Regions from separate parts of the Homo sapiens genome. Here all the other regions are linked to region 3. The links are contacts of gene promoters, found by promoter capture Hi-C in blood cells and fetal thymus (Javierre and others, 2016). All regions are on one chromosome and are shown on one strand. The core of a region is centred on a gene start or on the middle of the fragment in contact, and the rest is flanking DNA. Distances in the headings are between cores, read along the strand shown.

Region 1 (4,925 bases), core at 1,671-4,170, 73 kb before region 3:
CTCTCCTATTCAAATTCCTCTTTCAAAATTGGATCAATTTAAGGAAACAATTTAATATAATTGTTAAAGTGATATTTAATAGATTCTTCAATTTTATTTACTTTGTGTGACATTGTATTTATTTTATATAATTCATTGTAAATAGAAGTTTACGCACAGAGTTACCATAAATACATCCTGTTTTATTTACAAAGTATCTAAGGAAGAAGATGATTCATGCTCCCTAGTCTCCAGCACCTGTTTTGATACTTTACTCATTTACTGCTATGTGATTCATATATTTCTCTCTGGGGAAGTGGGCGGAAGACGGGTGCACATTGTTCTATGAAAACTTCAAGTCTTGCAAGTCTTGTTTTTTCCCCTAAGTCTTTTAAAATGTGCTGTGGAAAGAATTTATTCTAATTGGCTAATCAACAAGGATGCTATAGCACTATGCAGCTGTTTATGAGAAAAAACTGTCCTCAAATACTTGTCCACCATAATTGCTTTGTTTGAAGACATTTGGAATGGAGAGGTTTAGTAATGGATAGAAGGGATTGTTTTTTTCTCTATTTATGATTCGATGAATGGAAATCCTTTTAGACTGGCTAAACTACTTCTATTTTCTGATCTTAAAGTAGTTGTTCAACAGCAGTAGGACACAAATGATGCTGGATATATATATGGCAACCGTGAAAAATTCAGTGATAACAAATACTGTAGTTCTAGTGCAAATTTGTCCCATTGAAATAAGTAATAATCAAGGCATAGCATCAAGCTTCTAGAGAAAAAATGAAATCCAGCAGAAAAAGGGAGAGCATAAAATCTCAGTATGGGTACTGAGACCTAGGGAGTGGGGTTATCATCACCACCACCATTTTAGACTAATAATAACGATGATATGAAGATGATGATGCGTTGGGTGCTTGGCTGTGTGGTTTACACACTTCCTTTCATTTGTTTCTGAAAGGGAGTGAAAAAGGAGTGAGGCAGATTCAATCCCAGACTGCGTCCAGGGTCAACCTTTCTACTAACAGGAGGATTCCCAGATGCAAATTCAAGCAGGTCGAGAACACATTGTTGACCTGAGGCTCCTTTTCTGACCTGTCCTTGAGGCTGAGAGTTCAATCACGTGTTCACTGGTATCTCCAGTTGTGCGAGACAGTCACTAATAGGGTCATAAGGACCCACCTGGCAGAAAGATGCACAGCCTAAGTTGATATCTGGTGGCTCCTGATGAAGAGGTTTAATAACTGTTATTTCCCAATAGGATTTACAGTATTTTAGATTTTTAAAGAATCATTTTTTTCCTAAAGAAATCTGGCTACGGTAGAGGAGCAGGCGGATGTCAAGGAAAGGGGACGCCAGAGTGCTGGGCGTGAGAGCCCCGTGGGTGTGAGATAGAGCCGGTGGGTGTGACATAGAGCCGGTGGGCGTGAGATAGAGTCCGTGGGTGTGAGATAGAGCCCATGGGTGTGAGACAGAGTCCATGGGTGTGAGATAGAACCTGTGGGTATGAGATAGAGACCGAGGATGTGAGATAGAGCCCGTGGATGTGAGATAGAGCCCATGGGTGTGAGATAGAGCCTCTGGTTGTGACATAGAGCCCGTGGGTGTGAGATAGAGACCCATGGGTGTGAGATAGAGCCCGTGGGTGTGAGACAGAGCCCGTAGGTGTGAGACAGAGCCCGTGGGTGTGAGATAGAGCCTGTGGTTGTGACATAGAGCCTGTGGGTGTGACATAGAGCCCGTGGGTGTGAGATAGAGCCCATGGGTGTGAGATAGAGCCTGTGGTTGTGAGATAGAGCATGTGGGTGTGACATAGAGCTCGTGGGTGTGAGACAGAGCCCGTGGGTGTGAGATAGAGCTCTGTGGTTGTGAGATAGAGCACGTGGGTGTGAGTTAGAGCCCATGGGTGTGACATAGAGCCCGTGGGTGTGACACAGAGCCCATGGGTGTGAGACAGAGCACGTGGGTATGAGATAGAGCACGTGGGTGTGAGATAGAGCTTGTGGGTGTGACATAGAGCTCATGGGTGTGAAATAGAGCCCGTGGGTGTGAGATAGAGCTTGTGGGTGTGACGTAGAGCCCTGTGGGTGTTCGATGAGCCTCCTAGTGCCCTCTTGCCCGAATATTGATGGAAAAAATCCCTACATTCTTCTAATGTGAGTGTGTGCATAGAAAACCATCTTATCTCTAAGTGAGTGTGAGAATCCGATGAGTCAGCACGTATACAAATAGAGACTTATTTAAAATATTAATATTTAAATTTTAACAGTTAACACATTAAAGCTGTATAAACAAGTGACTTATAGTTACTATGCATTAGGCAAAGGCACAGGAAAAGTTCCTCTTGTGAAAATCTCCTCTATAAAATCATAAACAATACTGATAACTCATGTCCATGCTGGTGGGAGAAAAGTCTAAATAAAATTCTCTGTTCGACCCTCCCCTCAGAAGAAAAGCCTCTCAGAAGACTTCCTTCAAGACCCACCTCTTAAGAGGCTCCTGGGGGTTAAAAAGCTGTTATCAAATGCAAATCACTCCCAGCTGGGTTGAGGCCATGACTAATGTGCTCTTTGGTGAAGTTTCTTTTCATCTGCAATCCACAGATGCTTTGCTCAAACATGGAAGGTGTGGGGACGGTTTGAGTGGAGCAGATCCTCTCAGAACAGGACTAGCTGGCAACACAGGCCATTGCAAGGGAAGGCTGGCCTGCGGAGGGCTCACTGGGACACGGGAGAGAGCTGCCTGGTGACACAGAGGGGCTGGAGAAGGTGGAGGAGAGGAGGCAGGTGGAGGAGGGTCAGCTTTCCAAGGCGGAGCGGGTTGCTAAGTAAGTCCTTCTACCAGGAAGCTCAGCTGCACCTCCCAAATAATGACAAGGGACCCAGACACCATCCTAACGTGGCTCTCATGTGTTAGGGGTGCACAGGCATAGCCACCTAGGGAGTGGGGGGCTCATCAACACTGCCATTTTAGAGATAAAACACGGTGGTGCCAAGAGATTAACTAATGTGCCCAGCAGCCCGCACTTCCGAATGGGGGTCCATGGGGAGTACTCCGACCCCAGCACCCCAGCTCCATGGTCTGTGCACCCGCCTGACACGGCACCTCCAGAGTTGGATTTGGGGGTGCATGAGAAGGGAGGAGCCTTGCAGCTTCTGCTGCAGCCAAAAGTCTGTGAGCCCCACTGCTGCCCGGCGCCCCTGGCTCCTCAATTTGAGGTATACACAGAGCCTGACACACAGTAGGAACTCAGGTATTTGCTGAGTACATGAAAGAAATGAGCTGCAAGATGGAAGGTCATGCCAAGGAATTTTGCAGGGGCTTTCTGAGGGCAAGGCTTTCCCTCGGGTGCACCTGCACGCGTACTCGCCTCTTAGCTTAGGGTGCTGAGCACTGCTCTAGCCCAGGGTCTCCCACCTTCAGCACTTCAGATAATCTGCACCAGATAATTCTTCTTCACGGGGCTGTCCTGTGCATATAGGATGTGTAGCAGCGTCCCTGTGCCCCACCAGATGCCAGAAACACCCTCTCCACAGTATGACAACCAAAAGTGCCTTCAGATTTTGTCTGATGTCCCTGAGAGGAAGCTGCCCCTTTTCAAGAAGCCCTGGTGCAGCCACCTAAGAGCAGAAGGTGCAGTCTTCTCCGTGCCTGCGGAACTAGGCAGGTGCTGATGGGTCAGGGCCAGGCAAGACTACAAACGGGGCCCAAATGCCCCCGGCTCCATGATCTCCCCTTTACAGGAGCCGGAGAGTGCGTGAGGTGGGACACGGAGGCTCTGCCTCATATGAAGCAGCTTCCATTCATGACTGTGTCCACCGACACCAATGTGGAGCTCTCCACCATGATCACATTGTGGAGAAGGAAATACACCGCGGGACCGAATTCCTTGTCTAAGGACTGTCTAGGTCAGACTGGGAACATTCTTCCCAGTGGTTCGAAGGGTTTGCTTCCTAAGTATCGTTCAAATGCTGTCTGCAGGGAATACTGCATTCAGGAAGTGCCCACTGGGGTGGGTTTTAATGCGACTTTTCATGCAGAGGGCATTTGCTTCAATTATTTCCTTGTAAAAGAAATTTCACTGATTATTTCTGTTTCTTGGAAACAACTCCATTTAGTATTTTCTCTTAGCTCTTCCTAAATCAATCTTAAAAGGCCTCCTGATTTGGCTGTAATTCCAGAATCTTTCTCCATCTCAGAGAATCTCCTGAGGCGAGGGACCCGGAGGAAAGGGCCTGGTTCTGTCTCATGAGGCCGCAGGCGCACCTCTGGACCATGGAGGGCCTCAGTTTCCTCAACTGGGAAAGGAGACTTGCTAGTGTATCAGGTCCTTCCTATATCTACAATTCTCTGAATTTGTTCCATATCTATTTTTTTGGACAAAACTTTTGTCCTCCCTTGTCTGTATTTCCTTACATCTGAGTTTTATTTACAAATGATTTGAGCAGCAAATCCTTGATACTTAAGGTTGCCAGTGAAGACCTTGAATAAAGGGAGATACAATTAAAGCTGCATGCATCTTATTTTAGCCAAGAAAGCAGAAAACTCTGCTCAGATAGAACAAAAGCCTAATGAGCCCTGTTGAAATTCTTCATTTCACATTACATCTCGATTCGAGACGCCTGGGCTATTCCTTTTGCCAAAACTGTGTAAAATGTGACCGTGGTTTTAATATTCTTACAAGCCGTGGGTTATTCTTCTGTTGAATTCCCACAAGCCCTGTTTGTTGTTTTTCAGAGCAAACCACTCACTTTTCCAAACTGGGTTTTGATTGCTAATAAGAGAAACATTTTGACAGTATACTTTTTTTTCCAGAAAAGTTCTGTGAAGAAGAAAGTTCTGTTGAAATATACTTGTGATATGTTCAAATTAGGTCTGAATAAAGCCATTAAGTATTAGGCTGAATTTTATAAAGTACGTATTCAGATGATTTTACC
Region 2 (4,259 bases), core at 169-2,668, 92 kb before region 3:
TACAAAATAGAAGGCTGGCCAAAGTAGTCAACTCATGAGCCTTCCTGTGTAACCAGAATATGTGTACGTGGGCAGGAAATCTCTATAGGAAGCAGAAATCTAGGTCCATCATTATAAATGCTTTATCTTCTGAATAACTCTTTTAGTTACTGAAGTGGAATTACAACTTTTTTAATCTTATCAATTATAAAAGTATATTCAGGTTTCATTGATTACAATATTTTTCCCCCTTTTGGAAAATGATGTAATTAATAGTCATCATAGTAATTTTTCTGTTTTTTTGGTTCTCTATATAAACATTAATAAATGGGGATAGATTCAAGGAATCAGAAGTTAATGAAGCATATTTTAAACATTTAGACTTTCTGCTGTCTTAATTTTGAATACGTGTTTGAATACCTATGGGAGGCTACTTTTCTTACTGCATTTGCTTTACTAGCTTCTGTGTTATGAAATCTAACCATCAACTCTTTCAGGGAGAAGGAATGAACATTTCCGTCTGACCAAAGTTTCAAAAGTCAAGAGGTGAATTAATGTTCAGAAAATACTTAAAATCTTATTTAAATTTCTCATCTGCTTAAGAACTTTTTCACTTTTTTTTCTGTAGTAGGTATCTGAAGACCAACTTTTTCACTTTTATCACATATGCAAATTGATCTCCAAAAGGTTTATTAGAGATTGGGTCTATATATCAAAAGGTACTTTATGAATGAATTAAGAAGGGAGTTTCCTATCTAGGCTGGCTAGTTAGTGAGGTTGCAGAAGCAGTCAGCATAAAAACTTTGTTAAAGTTCAGGAATCCAGCTGGCTGTATGTTTTGGAGAATTTGTCTGATTACTACACATGGTTACTAGATCTATCGTGAATATGGAACAAATTCAAGAACATTAGATTCTCTTGGCCTTGTGGAGATTACTCAATTCATCTAGAATTTTAATCGAGCATCTTACAGATGGAACTTCTGCAATTATCAAGCTTCAGAAGCCATGACCAAAGCAAACCTCACTCAAATCTTCTCTTACCCTCAAAACAGAATGTTTTCCCCTAAAAGAAGCAGGTGGCCTATCATATTCCTGCCAGGAAGATCCTGCAGGGCAGGCATAATCAGATTAAAATCAATTAGATGAACTGTGTGGGAATTTGCATTTTAAACATTCTCATGGCACATCCCCCCAAATTTAGACAATTTTTGAAAAGTTCCAATATTTTCATATATTTCACAAAACTGGATTGTGTCACCAAGGGAATGCTATGCATCTGGAGAATAAAAGGTTTCACAGGACCTAGGCTCAGTTCCACACATTTATTTTTGTCCTCTGTGGGAAAGAAAATAGGTAAAGTGGTTCAGAGATGCAAGACTTTAGGTCTGGGGCCAACCAAACTCAAAGAGCTGCTTTAAAGCCCATTATGGGTAAAGCTAGACTTCTTCATTCTCAGACCAAGTCAATACGGGAGCTCACTTATGCCCCACATGCCAGCATGAATATGTCACTAATATATGATGGCCATCAAGGTTCTCTGGTTGTTTTGTGAATGTTATCTCTCAACAAGGTGTCTGACATCACAGGCTCTGAGGGCTTACGGGAGGAACAAGATTTTATCTTTGCTCTCCTTGGTGATCTAGACAAGTGGTTTAACCTTGGGCTCCTGTGCGGATGTGTGAGTTAAGTAGCTAGTGAGGGAAAAATGTGATAGGTGTTCAATAAATTTTCTTCACCTTTCTCCCCAATGCCCTTTCATTCCTTTGACCTGCTTCTTAAACATCCTTCACAATAGTTACCAGAATACTGGGCACAGAGTGGCCTGGCTGCTTAACAACTTACACATTCTCCCAGTTTTCCTGCCAATAAAAAAAGCTTCTTACAACTAAAAACCGGCAGGAATTTGTGGTTGATCTCCTTTGATAAAATGGTCTAAGTGAGCCAAAAAAGATACAGTTATATATAAGTAAGGCTAAAAATACTTTTTTTGACTTGGCTAAAAAAAAAAATTGTTAAAAAAAAATCAACCTAAATTGATTTGGTTGATGGACTAGATGATCTCCAACTCCACCCTGCCTCTGGGCTGGGTATGTCTGATATCTTATAATGCTGACTGTGCTTTTTGTTATTTGATTCTTTCTTCCTTTCTTTCCCTTTCTTTCTTTCTTTTTCTTTCTTTCTTTTTTGACAGAGTCTCACTCTGTCACCTAGACTGGAGGGCAGTGACACGGTCTCGGCTCACTGCAACCTCCACCTCCTGGGTTCAAGCGATTCTCCTGCTTCAGCCTCCCAAGTAGCTGTGATTATAGGCATTTGCCACCACTAAAATCTAAAACCACTAAACTAAAAACAAAACACTAAAAACACCATTTGTGTTTTTAGTAGAGTCGGGGTTTCACCATGTTGACCGGGCTGGTCTTGAACTCCCGACCTCAACTGATCCACCCACCTTGGCCTCCCAAAGTGTTGGAATTACAAGTGTGAGCCACTGCGCCCAGCTCATTATTTGATTGCTAAAGGAAGTGATGGCTATACACTTATATCTCTGATCTTTTGCTTATTTACATTTACCGTTGTCATTTCTATAGGCAGTTGAGTTTTCCTCATAATAAACATGTATTTTATTATTTTGAAAAAGTTGCACTTGAATACATTTCACACCTTATCTTCCCCCCACCTAAAGGAACATGTAAAAATAGCAATAGAAACAACCAAAAAGGAGAAGGGACAAGAGAAGAAGAAAAAGGAAAAGGAAGCAGTAGGAAAAAAAAAAAGAAAAAATCTGATTTTTGATTTAGATTTTTGAGTTTTTCTAAAAATAACTTCAAAGCCCTTCAAAATGTAATGGTGTGGAGAGTTGATCTTTCGCTTTAGCCTGCATCTGTTCGCGAGTTTTCCCAGCAGAGATGACTTCTTCTCCATACGATACAGCTGCTCTTAAAGCAAGGATTTGCCCATCTTTTCCAATCATTAGGGGGTTGCTAAAGTTTAACGTTTGTGACTCTTTCTGTTGGACTCAAAATAACATAAATAAACTTGTGAATATAAAATATGGTGTAAAAGCCTTCTTCTGAGTGTCCTCTCACAGCCCCCAAACACAGAGCTGATTCTTTCTCCTGCCCTCATACCCACCCACTCCCTCTCCTTCCTGCCCACAAAGGACTATTCATCCACATGCGGCTGACACGCCCGTCTCAGATCGCTTTCTGCGTGGTCCACATGATCCATTATTCCTTCTGCTACATCGATTTGCAAGTGGTAGTTCAGTTCAGAGCCAGTACTTCTGGCCTCCAGTTTCGATTTACTCCAAAAACGTCTGCCTTGCCAAGATTGTGAAATATGCCACCTACGATGTTCTTAAAAACTGAAAAAAGTTCAAATGTTTATTAGTGGAAAAATGTGCATCCATCACTAAGTGGAAATGAGAAATAAAAATTCATTTAAAAAGTGCTCATACGGCTTACTTCCCTCCAATCAAGCCTATAAATACTGACAACCTGAAGCCTGAATCCCTATTTAAATGACAGGGACCCAGAGTGATGGCTTGTGATGCTCTGAGGGGTTCTTCGGTTCCGGGGCTGCCCAAACCACTTCCCTGTTAGACTTGTATTTGGCAGAACCTCCGTGCAGAAGTCCAAGACTGTTCTGACGCATTTGTAAGTAAACAGACTGTATAACTTATCTTCAGACAAATATCAATGGGGGCGGATAAACAGTCGGCCAGAGGAGGTTTTCCAAAAACTCTCCGACGGTCATGTGATATTAACAGGGCTACACTGTGGTCTTGGCAGGCCTGCTCGGGCCTTGAGCAACGTTATGACCAAGGATGGTAGCAGGCTGTGAATAAACTCCTATTAGTCATGTCCGTGAAGCCTGGGTGCTCAGGAGGGAGAGTGAGGCTCAAGCCTTGTGGAATTCAGTGCTCTGACTTCAAACTCAAAATAAAACCACAAAACATTTGCACATTGACTAGACCTCTGAAATCTCTCTATGCATACCATCTGACACGTTCAACAGTTTAAAAAATGAAAGGAGACAAAAATTTGCTGTTTGTAAGAAAGAAATTGCAATTCTCTACAATTTGATGCTGGTTTTATCATTAGGGATTGGAAACGCCTTTAATTCTCTCCTCACAAGAAAAAACGGTCCGCTTAGTCATTTCTAGTAAGATTCTGAATGGCTTAATCTTAGACTGCCATGGGGTTTAATGACGGGGTGGTCAGTCCCCATCATTAGCAATGTTAAAGGAGGGCGTGGTGAGATGTCTCATGATCAAAG
Region 3 (4,777 bases), core at 24-2,523:
CTACGGCTGCAGCTTTGCCCAAAGCAACGAAAACGGTGCCTCAGGCTACATTTTAAGTTCCCAGTTCCCGTGAAAGGCCGACGCTTGCAAAACACAGGATTGACGCTGGGAACCCAAGGGGAAGGAAAGGTGGAAAGCATGATGAGGGAAGAGCAAGCTTTCTCAGAACCTTGGTGGGCAGCCTGGCGAACATCCACACGCACACACACACTCGGGAGCGCACGGACGAGCTGCCTTCTCCAAGGCCACTCAAACGTCCCAACCACTCTCGGGCGCGCAAGTCCAAGCGCGGGAGCCAGGACTTACCGCCAAGACGCTCTGGGCGAGGAACCCCACGGTCACTGTCCCCAGCAGCAGCCACCTGCATGGGAAAGGGAGGAAGAGAGACGTGAACGTGCGGGCCCGGCTTGTCAGTCCCCGAGAGTTACACCGAAGGGTCCATGCGCGCGTGACCCACGGGGACCAGGCAGAAAGTCGCTTACCGCCGTAGGGCAGGGCCGGCCACCGCGCGCTGGTCTCTCCCCATGCTGGCGGTTCGTCCACTCTGGGCCCCGGTCAGTCCCACTTAGCCTAGAGGCGACAGACAAAGCGAGTTTAGCGCAGGATGAGGGAGGCAGCCCATCCTCACCGCCGGTCTCGGTCCGCGAGACGCGGGGACAGCGCGGTGCGCGGCCCGCATGCAGGGGTGACCGGAGGGCCGTCCCCCCCACGACCCGGAAAGAAGGAGAGCCTCCCGTTAGGCCCCTGTGGGTGCTCCTTGGCCGAGGAGCTCGGTCTTCGCTCTCCCACCCTCCCCCTTTCTACTCCCAAGCAGGAGAGCGTGCAGCCCTAGCCTGCACAAGGCGCTCCAAGTCGGTGCTCTCGGGCCAGGGTCTGGGCGCCGCTCGGGGGTCGCTCTCACCTCGGGCTCGGCTTCAGGGGCTGCTGCCCGAACGCATTGGCCCTTCCAGAAGCACCCGCCGGCGGCACACCGGCAGGGCGGCCGGCCTTGCTGGGCTCTCTGGGCGCCGGCCCCGGGGGCTCGGGCGGCCCCTTTCGGTCCTCGGCCTGGATCCGCGAACGCGCGGGCGCGAGGGGTTGGGACGCGGGAGCCTCTTGAGTGCGGAGCGCGGAGCCCTGGTGTCCCGGCGCACTGCAGCCACACTCCCGGGCCGCGCGCTCCCGCCGCCTCTTACCCGCGCCGCAGGGTCCTCCCCTTTGAGGCGCCGCCCGCGCACCGCCGGGGGGGAGGGGGCAGCGCCAACAAATTGGGGAGCTCGGCCCGCCGCGCTCAGGTCTCCGCTTGGAGCCGCCGCACCCGGGACGGTGCGTAGCGCTGGAAGTCCGGCCTTCCGAGAGCTAGCTGTCCGCCGCGGCCCCCGCACGCCGGGCAGCCGTCCCTCGCCGCCTCGGGCGCGCCACCATGGGGCCCCGGCTCAGCGTCTGGCTGCTGCTGCTGCCCGCCGCCCTTCTGCTCCACGAGGAGCACAGCCGGGCCGCTGCGAAGGTGAGTTCCCGGCCAGCTCCGCTCCCGGCGTCCCGCCCCGAGCTTGGGCGCCCCGAGAGGCCCCTTTGTCCGCGCCTGGACCCGTCCGCCTGCCCCTCGGGGGTCGCGCGTGGCACGGCCAGGTGCATTCTCTGGGCCGGGGTTCGTTGGGGGTCCCTGTAGGCTACGATCGCGCATTGGTGGACCGAGCCTCCTTTGTTATGGTATGGGTACTGGAGAGTTAAGGAATTCCTCCGGGGAAGGGAGGAGAAACAGCCCGCGCTGTGGCGGGGTGAGGGTGCCTGGGAGCCGGCGGGATTTGAACCCGCGTCGCGGGTATGCTCGGCAGCTGGGCGCCTTCACCCGTCCCGGGTGCGCGAGGGAGTTGGGGGCTGGAGGGCCGGGAGCGCCCACCCCGCGCTGCTCAGAGACCCACACTGGGAGCTCCGAGCTCCTAGCCCCTGGGAGCAGCTTTGGGCGTATTTCTCCTTGTCTGGAGACCCTGGTGGCTGAGGCTGAAAAGCTCTGGGCCCTTTGCCTGGAAACAGCTGTATCTGAGCTTTCCCACGACTGCTGCCTAAGGCGCGCTCCAAGGCAGAAGTGGGGCTCTTCTGGACGCCCGGCTTGAAGAAGCCACCATCCTCAACTCGTTGCCTTCTATTAATATATATTTTAAAAAATTATAACCACATTCATATTTGAGCATGAAACCAAAGTGAAACTCCATGTCATTGTTCCATGCACAAATTGTTTTTCTAGTTTTCATTTCCTTTGGTTATGTGCTTGCCCAGAAAGGATCTGGGAGATCGGTTTGCAGGAGGTTTGCAGGAGTCGAGGCTTCCAGCCGTGGACAAGCCTGGACTGACTGTTGTTTCCTTTTTTCCTTCCCCTCCGAGAGAATAAAGACTTCAGCTGTTGCTCAGTGTCACAGCCATGCAGTCCCACAGGCCGGAAGGTGTGGCTTCTGAACAGATTTTGCAGTTTCTCCCTCAAATGCTTAAAAATGATTTTTGCTACTTACCAGATTTTCCATACTTATTCTTTTACTGTTCTTAATCTTGTTCTTTGTTTTCCTCTTTAAAAAAAAATTTTACTTCTCTCCTGGAAGAATGATACTCACTAAATCCACTTAACTGTATAGAAATTGTTAACTGTTACATGCCAGAGAGAACTGGTGATATACACACACGTCTCCTAATTGAGAGCTTATCTCCCTGGAGGCAGCTTCTCCACTGGGTATTGAAAGGACTAATGATTACATCAGCAATTAACTTCAGATTGTACCTCCCAGCCCAGTCTCCCCAAACTTCATAGCCAGTTATTTAAACACTCTTTGGTAATGATGACAAAATACTTTCCAAAGAACAGGCTTGAGAGCACTTTATTTTGGTCTAGAAATATTGACCAAAAGATTGAACGCTTCCAAGGTGAGATGGTGAAGCCTGATGATGGTAAGGTAAATCAGAGAAAGTTCTTCATTGGGAAATAGGAGCTGTTTGCATTTCGATTTTCTGATGGATAATGTTAGCAAAGCAAAGAAAGCTAACTGTAAGAGCTGGCTTTCCAAACATCCAGGACTGTAGAAAGAAAGAACCACTCAGTTACGCAAATCCTGTTCTCACCCGGGAAATCAAACGCATTAATGTTGAGTTGGAGATGATTTTACTTCCCTTTAATCATTTCCTAAAGCTCAATTACATTCCCGGCCACTGTCTTTGCAGTGTCCCTTGAGGTGCCATGGACTGTTTTTAAGAGATGCAGCCTGTGGGCACTTCTGATCACAGCTGACCTCACAGATATTATCATTACTCTGTATTTTCCCTGGCTTAATTAGAGAAAAGTGCTTAATGTGCAGATGATGTATGGGTATACAAGAAAATCACTTAAAAACTGAATCTGCCTAATTTTAAAATTTGTCTCACTTTTCATGCCATCAATAACATTTTGGCTTACCTCCTTCCAAAATCAGCTGTTAGATGTACCATAACACTGAAATAGCTTCAATACTGATCCAAGCAAAACATAATTTAAAAGCACATTTTGAATGATAAGATGCTGTGGATTTGATCAGATCCTCATTCAGAAGCCAGTGGAAGTGACTGTTGGCTTACCTCTCCTTTGCACTGTCTGAATCACACTTCACCTGCATTTGTACATCCAGACATCACCTGCTGTGTGCCAGGCATGAATTGCCCTTATTGTTTTTTCTTCATGAAAGGCTGTTTAATTTTGTATTTGCTGTATCTGCTATGGTCATATTGTTTACGTACTCATGGGTGGATTTTCTAAACCATTGATTTTATCCCACGCTGAACCTACCACTCTACTCCCCGCTCCTCCCTTCCTCCACTTTTCTTCAGCAAGAAAGGAGGAATAGCTTGCAGGCTCCAGACAAACACGTGCCAGCAGTGTTCTGATTGTGAGCACCCTCTACTCTTAGTCACTCAGTTGCACTGGGCGGAATGAACCCTTCCTGCAGCAGCTTTCACACTCCCCTCTAGCTGGTTCTGTGTGATGCTTCTTAACAGATTATTTCTCAGGATTAGAAACGTGAACTTTCCCCTCAGTGTGGTGATGCTTGTCCAGCAATACTGTCATCTCCTGACCATTAGTCACCACCTCTGGGACTGAATGACCTAGAGTTCAAACTAAGTGAGATTTCATTCCCATATAAGTATGGACCATGTTCTACTGGAAATGTAGTTTAGAAGAGAAGGCTGGTTTCTGAATCAGTCCCAACAAGAGCAGCATCGCCCAGGATCTCAGGAGTGATATTGGTGAAGCTATTCCTTATATCTGCAAGCTCTTTATATTAATAGATGGAATTGGACTAGGGTGAAGGGACATAACTTTAAGACCAACCAGAAGACACAATGTTCATGTACTCTGACTAGATTCACAGAATTATCAATGCTATATATTATTAATAGTCACGTGTACACAGGATGAGTGTGCTTTAGGCACCAGAGGACCTTACATTTTATACCTGCTTTTAAGCAGATGATTTGGGGGTACTCATCAAACTCTATACCTCAGTTTCCCTGGCAGGTCTGTCCCTTCCTCACACGGACCCGTTTGTGCCTTCCTTCATTCCACACACACATCGGGAACACCTCCTTCCTGCCATGACCTTGCCAGGTGCTGGCCATGCGGCAGGGACTCACCCCCACTCTCTGTCCTCAGGAAGGTCAGGTGAGAAATATTGGAAAAGAAACAGACGAATCCAAGTCAGGCTGGTAAATGTCACAATCAGGGGAATCGAAGGGCTATAGGAACACTGAATCCAGCTTTGGGGAACTCAGAGGAAACTTC

The links. The method cuts DNA at HindIII sites, captures the fragments that hold promoters and counts their contacts. A CHiCAGO score of 5 or more calls a contact.
Region 1: a fragment that was not itself captured here is called in contact with the fragment with the promoter of COL4A1 in region 3 in 1 of 17 cell types (endothelial precursors); the score reaches 6.8 in endothelial precursors.
Region 2: a contact is called between a fragment that was not itself captured here and the fragment with the promoter of COL4A1 in region 3, in 1 of 17 cell types (endothelial precursors). The highest score is 5.6, in endothelial precursors.

The regions. Positions count from the first base shown.
Region 1 is chr13:110,377,770-110,382,694 of GRCh38, reverse strand. The region is part of intron 4 of COL4A2 (collagen type IV alpha 2 chain); the gene reads right to left. Among named protein-coding and RNA genes, the nearest start is that of MIR8073, 39 kb to the right of the region's middle. RefSeq lists an enhancer at 2,287-3,237. The HindIII fragment of the contact is 4,321 bases long and covers 760-4,925 here.
Region 2 is chr13:110,396,599-110,400,857 of GRCh38, reverse strand. All of the region lies in intron 4 of COL4A2 (collagen type IV alpha 2 chain), which reads right to left. Among named protein-coding and RNA genes, the nearest start is that of MIR8073, 58 kb to the right of the region's middle. The HindIII fragment of the contact is 881 bases long and covers 978-1,858 here.
Region 3 is chr13:110,303,653-110,308,429 of GRCh38, reverse strand. It overlaps COL4A1 (collagen type IV alpha 1 chain), which reads left to right and starts at 1,273. Exons shown (of 52, transcript NM_001845.6): 1 at 1,273-1,486. The coding sequence starts at 1,403. It overlaps COL4A2 (collagen type IV alpha 2 chain), which reads right to left and starts at 1,146. Exons shown (of 48, transcript NM_001846.4): 1 at 902-1,146; 2 at 483-570; 3 at 307-361. The coding sequence starts at 526. RefSeq lists enhancers at 1-683, 684-1,517. The HindIII fragment of the contact is 7,261 bases long and covers 160-4,777 here.